Linked DNA regions of Homo sapiens: region 1 is linked to region 2. Evidence: promoter capture Hi-C in human tissues and cell types (Jung and others, 2019). All regions are on one chromosome and are shown on one strand. The core of a region is centred on a gene start or on the middle of the fragment in contact, and the rest is flanking DNA. Distances in the headings are between cores, read along the strand shown. Region 1 has its middle 71 kb from the start of SPATA31F3. Region 2 holds the start of CCL21 (C-C motif chemokine ligand 21).

Region 1 (4,013 bases), core at 432-2,931, 120 kb before region 2:
GGGTGGAGCAGGTCCTTCCCATGGTTCCCTGCAGGCTCCTACCTGCTTGAGGCCAGCATGGGCTCATGCTGCTGACAGAAGTCCCAGGGGCAGAGAAATGAGCTGAAACTGATAGCTTCAGGATTCTGAGTTCTTGGCAAAGTCAAGAGCTAAGAGAAATAGGGGTCATAGCCTATGACTTATGTGGAATGCTGATGGTGGATGAAGCCTTGCTCATCCCATAATCCCTGCATAAATCCATGTTCTATCTTCCCCAGGGTGAAGAGAGGCAAGAAGCAAAAGTCACATGAAGGGTATAAACTCAAGAATTTACTACTTCAGGTTTGGGGGTAGATGCTAGGAATACATCAGTGCTTGCTTGGGATCTTTGGGTTCACCTCTGGCACACTCAGGTAACAACATGTCATGGTGAATGGCCCCAACCTTCTAGAGCTCTTCTCTTGGGCTTTCCAGAAGGGCACTTCGGAATTGGCTGGAGGGAATTTCAGGAAACCGACCACCAGCAGTGGGAGGAGGGTGGCTTCTCCACAACATCACTTGTGTTCAACGCTGAGTTGTTGAGGGCAGGGACTGTGACTGCTTCACTTCTATACCTGCTCACTGCAGCCCAGGCAGGGAGGGCAAGGGACACAGGATGAACACAGGAATAGACTCCATGGAGACACTGCTTCCTGCACCATGTGGGAGGTGGCTGGGCCTCTGCTGCTTAACCAGACAACCAGGGCCGAATGCTCTACCTGGCCTCTGGAGCCCATGGTCTAGGCCAGGCCTGCCATAGATGGAAGGGCCAGAATGGCCTCTGTGTCCACTGCAGGGACAGAGGAGAAGGGAGGACTTCCTTGAGCTCAGGTGGCAATATGACAGATAAGCACAATCCAGGCATGTAAAGTGCTTAGGGACACAAAGGACCAGATGCCTCACAGGGCTGACCAGGCTTACAGAGGTCTGTGCATTCTCATGCCCGGAGACAGTGAGGCCAGGACCCTGGGAGAGCATGGGGAGGGAGAGGGGGGCCTGGGAAGAGGCCAGTGAGATCCAGTTTCCAGAAGGAGGGGTGGGTGCTGCCAACTACCCCCCTTTCCTGCCTTGTCCCTCTCCTCCTCTATAAACTTCTCTCGTGTTCTTGCCTGGTCCACAGCCAGGCAAGTAGCATACTAGGGGATTTCCAGAGTGTATCAATTCCAAGGTCAGGCCTACTACAAAGGCCACAGGGGCGGGTCCCTGGGCAGGCAGACTGACCCATGGGAATCCAGACGGTGGGAAGGGAAGCCCTCCTTGCAGTAAATTGTGCTAGCAGCTAGGGTGTATCAGGGCAGAGGGGGAAGATACGGTGAGGGGCCAGGGCAGAATTACACACATATGGTTTTGCCATAATGGCAAAAACCACAATTACTTTTGCACCAACCTAAGAGTTCAGAGTAAGCACAAACATGTCAAGAAAAACACACTTATGTCTTCCTTGGACATGACTTGGGTGTTCTTGGACTCATGAACTTGGATTTGGGTGTTCATGAGTCCTTGGGTGTTCAAGGACTCATGAACACCCTGCATCAGACATGCTCGAGCAAACAGTCAAAAATGCACAGACACAAAGACAAGTTGACAAGTTTGCACACAGAACAGACAGCCCATCTTACAGACCCACAGACACAAATGCAGTCCAAATCCATCCTGCAAAGACCCTCTCCTCCATAAATCCTCTAGGCTACCTCAGACCAGGCTCATCTCTCCTTTAAACTTTGGTTTGTCATTTCTGTCCCATTGCTTGTCCTTTAATAGGATAGTTTTGGTTTCACATGCATACCTCTGGTCTCAACAATGTGGCTGTGTGCTCTTAAAGAACGTCAGGGTCAGGAAGAGAGTCCTCTTCAGCAGCCTCATCCTTCGCCTATACACCCATCACCCTGAGGGCCCCCAATTTACTGCTGGCTCCATCCTTGAAGGGTCCTGACTCTCAGACTCTTTGACATAGCAGACACAAGGGAAGAACAAACCACGTAGACACACTTAGTCCACGTTATCCTCGGGAAACCATGAAGAACCAGGTCCTGGTTCCCCAGTTAGAAAACCCTTACACAAGACATGATCTCATATGTAGCTCTAGCCTAAACTTTATGTTAACCACAATCCCACCCCTATCGACCACACCTCTAAACCCAACTCCAACCCCATTTCCAAAGAAACCTCTAAACCATAGTTTTTCAAATAAGAAGGAACAACTGTACCTCAGACAGGTAATACTAGTGACTGTGATCCAAAATGTTTACATGGCCAAATAAGTTTGAGATAGAAAACTGATCCGCCCTCTCCCCAGCAGCTTAATGCCTACCTTCCCTAGCTGGACCACAGCTATAGTGACCACTCTGTACCCATGAACTGTGGAGGACCCAGAAACAGCAAACAACCTGTCATCTATACAAGATTAACACATGTTATGCATAAGCCTAAGTCCCTCTCCACACTATCTTGAAAGCTTAAAATCAGCCTCCAACACAAAATTTATCTCTTTGTCTAAATTCTAAATGCCAGCAGTGCCTTACTCCAACCCTAACACCTTCCTCATCTAAGATACACCAACTTCTATCAACAGGAACCACAAACCTAGTTCCAAACCCTACTTTAATATCACCATGATTCCCACCCTATCCTTACCACTACCTCACTCCAAACTGGAACCATAACATCAATGCTGTTCTAAGCATAATTCTAACTCTAACTGTAACCCTAGGTAGCTATACATTGAGGAATACATACATCTATGCTAGGCACACACATTTTGCACACATATGTGTCATATATTTCCCCAGGAGCTCAGGAGATCTTTCAATAACAGCTGCACAGTCCATGGGGCATCTTGTTTGGGAAGACTCAATGCTCACCTGGGAACCCAGGAACAGCCATGCCCCCAGACTCTGTGACCCTTGTCGGATATACAGGCCTATAGGGCCCAGCCCACTCCAAATTCTGTTGCAGAACTAGCCCAGCCCTTGAGCTGAAATTCCCACCGTACCCCTCTGTGGCTCTTACCTGCCAAGCTGGGAGCATCTCCTGCCCTGGAAACTCTACCAGGCGAGAGCAAACAGGCCCTGAGGGTGAAGGGAGTGTGGTCCTTTCCAATGTGGGGATTTCCAGACTCTTGCAACACCCAAACCTAGGACGTCTACTCCAGAACTGGCCCAGGTGCCTGTCCTAGAGAGGTAGTGGGCCTGCTAACACTGTGGCTGAGGTAGATGTGAATAAGCACAGTTCCTCTCACCTTCCAGGATCTCAGTCTGGTGATAGAGTGTTAGATCTGAATTCATCATCACAGGTAGGGCTGAAGTCATGTGTGGCTCAGTCTCTTCTCGGCTGCCTCAGTGCCTCCCTCTCAAGCTTCCAGGTTCGCCCACAGACCAGAGTGTGGGCAGAGACTCACTATCCCATTCTTGCTCTCAGGGCAGCTGTTTTCTGACCTAGTTTTTCATCCAGCCAGGTTTCCACCTCCAGCAAAGCTTCCCCCCTTTCCTTTGGGCTCCTAACTTTTTTCTAAGCCACAGGACCAAGCAGGGAGGCCCCAACGTCTCCAGGATGGAACATCTCTCTGAGGCTGCTCAACCACTGAAGGCTCTAGGTGACAGGTAGGGGCTTAGAGTCTATACTAGAAAGAGCTTCCTGAATCTAGAAAAGGTAGGCAAGGATGGGACCCGAAGGTGCTGTGGACACCATCTGACACTAACAAATGGCCTCCTGGATGGCATGACCAAGGGCAAAGGGACAACAGGATGTTTTGAGTGAGATAGGGAAACTGGGATTCTAGGAGAGGAAGAAGCACAGCCCCTTCCTCTTCCCTGCCATGTTCCCCCTAGCTTTCTCAGAGGCAGTGCCAGGCTGGAAAGTCCCTTCCCTAGGTGAGCACCACTCCAGCTTCTTCGGACAATCTTTTTTTTTTTTTTTTTTTTTTTTTTTTGAGACGGAGTCTCGCTATGTCGCCCAGGCCGGACTGCGGACTGCAGTGGCGCAATCTCGGCTCACTG
Region 2 (3,708 bases), core at 220-2,719:
CGCCACTGCACTCCAGCCTGGGCGAAAGAGTGAGACTCTGTCTCAAAAAAAAAAAAAAAAAAGTAACAACATTGCCAGGTATGCTGGTTCACACTTGTAATCCCATTACTTTGGGAGGCCAAGGCGGGTGAATTGCTTGAGGTCAGGCGTTCGAGACTAGCCTGGGCAACATAGTGAGACCTCGTGTCTACAAAAAATACAAAAATTAGCCAGGCATGGTGGCCCCACTACTCAGGAGACTGAGGTGGAAGGATCACTTGAGCCCAGGAGGTCGAGGCTGCTGTGAGCTGAGATTGTGCCACCGCACTCCAGCCTGGGTGACAAAGCGAGACCCTGTGTCAAAAAAAAAAAAAAAGATAAAAGCTAGTATTGTATTTTTAGTTTGTAGCCCCACTTTTTTCTATATAATTTAAAAGGAAAATGCATTAAACAATAATTATAAATCTATGTCAATGGGAACACAATGTATAAAGATGTAATCTGTGACAATAACAATATAAAGAAGGGACTAAAATGTATACGAGCAAAATGTTTATATACCATTGAAACTAAGTTGGTATTATTCAAACTAGGTTGTTATCAGTTTAGAATGTTAATTATAATCACCAAGGTATCCATTAGGAAAATAACTACAAAATATATAGAAAAGGAAAGCAAAGGGGAATCAAAATGGTTATGCTACAGACCAGGTGCAGTCGCTCATACCTATAATTCCAGCACTTTGGGTGGCCAAGGCAGGAGGATCGCTTGAGCCCAGGAGTTCAAGACCAGACTGGGCAACATAGCAAGACCTCATCTCTAGAAAAAATAAAAATGAAAAATGAAAACAGTAGCCGGACGTAGTGGCATGTGCCTGTGGTCCCAGCTCCTCAAGAGGCTGAGGCAGGCAGATCATTTGAGCCCAGGAGCTCAAGACTAGCCTGGGCTAGACATCGTGAAACCTCGTCTCTACAAAAAAAAAATAGAAAAATCAGCCAGGCGCAGTGGTGCTTGCCTGTAGTCCCAGCTCCTGGGGAGGTTGAGGTAGGAGGATCACTCGAGCCCAGGAGGCGGAGATTTCAGTGAGCCAAGATCAACCACTGCACTCCAGCCTGGGTGACAGAGTTAGACCCTGTCTCAAAAAAAAAAAAAAAAAAAAGAACTCTTACAATTTAATAATCAGATTTGCTGGAAGGAGGGGAAGGGTATGGATCCTGGAGCGTAGTGAGGAGACAGTCATGGTGTTCCAGGGGAGAGGCAGTGAGGCCTGCATGAAAGCAGTAGCTGGGAATAGAAGGAAGGCTCAGGCCCAGACATATTCAACTAATGAGGACATAAAATTTGGCAGCTGAGGACTGTCCACTTAGTTTGAGATAAGTGGGGCTGGGTGCCAGCAAATCCAGCTTTCAGGAAGGAAAAGGAGTGGGGATAAGTTAAGGGAAGTGAAAGTGTCTAGCTACATAAATAGCAGGCCAATCCCAGCCCACGCACAGACCCCCAACTTGCAGCTGCCCACCTCACCCTCAGCTCTGGCCTCTTACTCACCCTCTACCACAGACATGGCTCAGTCACTGGCTCTGAGCCTCCTTATCCTGGTTCTGGCCTTTGGCATCCCCAGGACCCAAGGTACCAAGGCAGGGAGGGGCCTTGCATGGGGCTAAGGGGATCAAGAGGCCTGGATAGGAGCTTGCCAGCAGCCCCTGGCTCCCTGTGAATCCCACCCTGCAGGCAGTGATGGAGGGGCTCAGGACTGTTGCCTCAAGTACAGCCAAAGGAAGATTCCCGCCAAGGTTGTCCGCAGCTACCGGAAGCAGGAACCAAGCTTAGGCTGCTCCATCCCAGCTATCCTGTGAGTGGACACAAAGGGGTGGGTACTGGCTGGTGACGGGGTGGGGAGGGCATGGTGGGCAAGACTAAGAAGGCTTACTAGCCCCCACCCGCAGGTTCTTGCCCCGCAAGCGCTCTCAGGCAGAGCTATGTGCAGACCCAAAGGAGCTCTGGGTGCAGCAGCTGATGCAGCATCTGGACAAGACACCATCCCCACAGAAACCAGCCCAGGGCTGCAGGAAGGACAGGGGGGCCTCCAAGACTGGCAAGAAAGGAAAGGGCTCCAAAGGCTGCAAGAGGTGAGGAATCTGAGGGATGTGGGTAAAGGGGAGCCTCAGTCAGCCCCTCACACCCCTCTTCTGCCCTCACAGGACTGAGCGGTCACAGACCCCTAAAGGGCCATAGCCCAGTGAGCAGCCTGGAGCCCTGGAGACCCCACCAGCCTCACCAGCGCTTGAAGCCTGAACCCAAGATGCAAGAAGGAGGCTATGCTCAGGGGCCCTGGAGCAGCCACCCCATGCTGGCCTTGCCACACTCTTTCTCCTGCTTTAACCACCCCATCTGCATTCCCAGCTCTACCCTGCATGGCTGAGCTGCCCACAGCAGGCCAGGTCCAGAGAGACCGAGGAGGGAGAGTCTCCCAGGGAGCATGAGAGGAGGCAGCAGGACTGTCCCCTTGAAGGAGAATCATCAGGACCCTGGACCTGATACGGCTCCCCAGTACACCCCACCTCTTCCTTGTAAATATGATTTATACCTAACTGAATAAAAAGCTGTTCTGTCTTCCCACCCAAGTACCTGTTCCCATGTGTTTATGTCCACCGAGATGCCAAGGTTCCTACAGGGTGGGGTCACACACTCTGAGCCGAAAGCTCAGGCTGAAAAATGCTATGTTCTCATCTACCCCAAGAGTTTCCTTGCCTCTCAGGTGCCTGCACCCCTGAGCAGTTAAAGGGAGGCTGAAGGACAGGGTAGGACCCAGTCTTCTGAGGCATCCTGCCAATGGAGAGGTGGTGGACATGGAGCACACACCCCCAACAGCTCTGCAGACCTCTGAGACCCTGATTCTGTCCTGCACTAACTCCAGGGGTGACCTTCGGATCTTTTCCATGACCTTCAGACCTTTCCCCAGATATCCCAGAGGCTTCCTCTCTTTTCCCTGGGAACTATTCAATGAGACCCTCCAAGTGGTTCTTTGGAAGGGTCCCTAGGAGGGAAGCTGTGGCTTGGGCCCATCTATAACACAGACAAACACAAGTTATATTGAAACCTGCCCTAGCACAGTTCCAGCCCTGAGAGAGCCCCTGGGAGGCAAAGACCCGAGGGGACTTGCTTCAGCCCTATTCAGTGAAGCTCGGGCCTTGACCTCTCCTCTTTGTTTAATGGGGCTGTTGTGCTCTCCTTCTATTCCTATCTGGGCCCCTGGACTCACTCAGCCTCCTTCCAGATGGAAAAACCTCCTCCCTTTTTTTTTCCTCCTTTCTTTCCTGGCTGGGATCCAGACTACTTTAGCCCATTTAACCCTTTGAAGTCAAGGAATAAGTCTCCTGGGGCAGGTTTTCAGAACCCCAGGATTCAGGTGTGAATCAGTCTCCTCTCCTGGAAGGCCTCAGATGGCTCTCCTCTACCTCTTCCTCCCCAGAGTGAAGACCCTTCTATTCCCCAAATCACCTCCAGGCGGGGAGAGTAGAAGCCATCAGATTGGGCCAGACAATGTGAGAAAGAAGGGAACAGATCCTGGGGAAGGGCAAGAAAGGTAGGAACCTCAAGGCCGGGCGCGGTGGCTCAGGCCTGTAATCCCAGCACTTTGGGAGGCCAAGGCAGGCGGATCATGAGGTCAGGAGTTCCTGACCAGCCTGGCCAACATGGTGAAACCCCGTCTCTACTAAAAATACAAAAATT

What was found. The method cuts DNA at HindIII sites, captures the fragments that hold promoters and counts their contacts. A contact is called where the count stands out against the background at its distance.
Region 1: a contact is called between a fragment that was not itself captured here and the fragment with the promoter of CCL21 in region 2, in 2 of the 25 tissues and cell types used here (dorsolateral prefrontal cortex and lymphoblastoid cells).

The regions. Positions count from the first base shown.
Region 1 is chr9:34,823,136-34,827,148 of GRCh38, reverse strand. It overlaps a transcript of PHF24 not described here. Among named protein-coding and RNA genes, the nearest start is that of SPATA31F3, 71 kb to the left of the region's middle. The HindIII fragment of the contact is 6,147 bases long and covers 1-4,013 here.
Region 2 is chr9:34,707,897-34,711,604 of GRCh38, reverse strand. It overlaps CCL21 (C-C motif chemokine ligand 21), which reads left to right and starts at 1,469. Exons shown (of 4, transcript NM_002989.4): 1 at 1,469-1,605; 2 at 1,708-1,828; 3 at 1,923-2,105; 4 at 2,178-2,600. The coding sequence starts at 1,539. The coding sequence ends at 2,211. It also overlaps a transcript of PHF24 not described here. The HindIII fragment of the contact is 9,492 bases long and covers 1-3,708 here.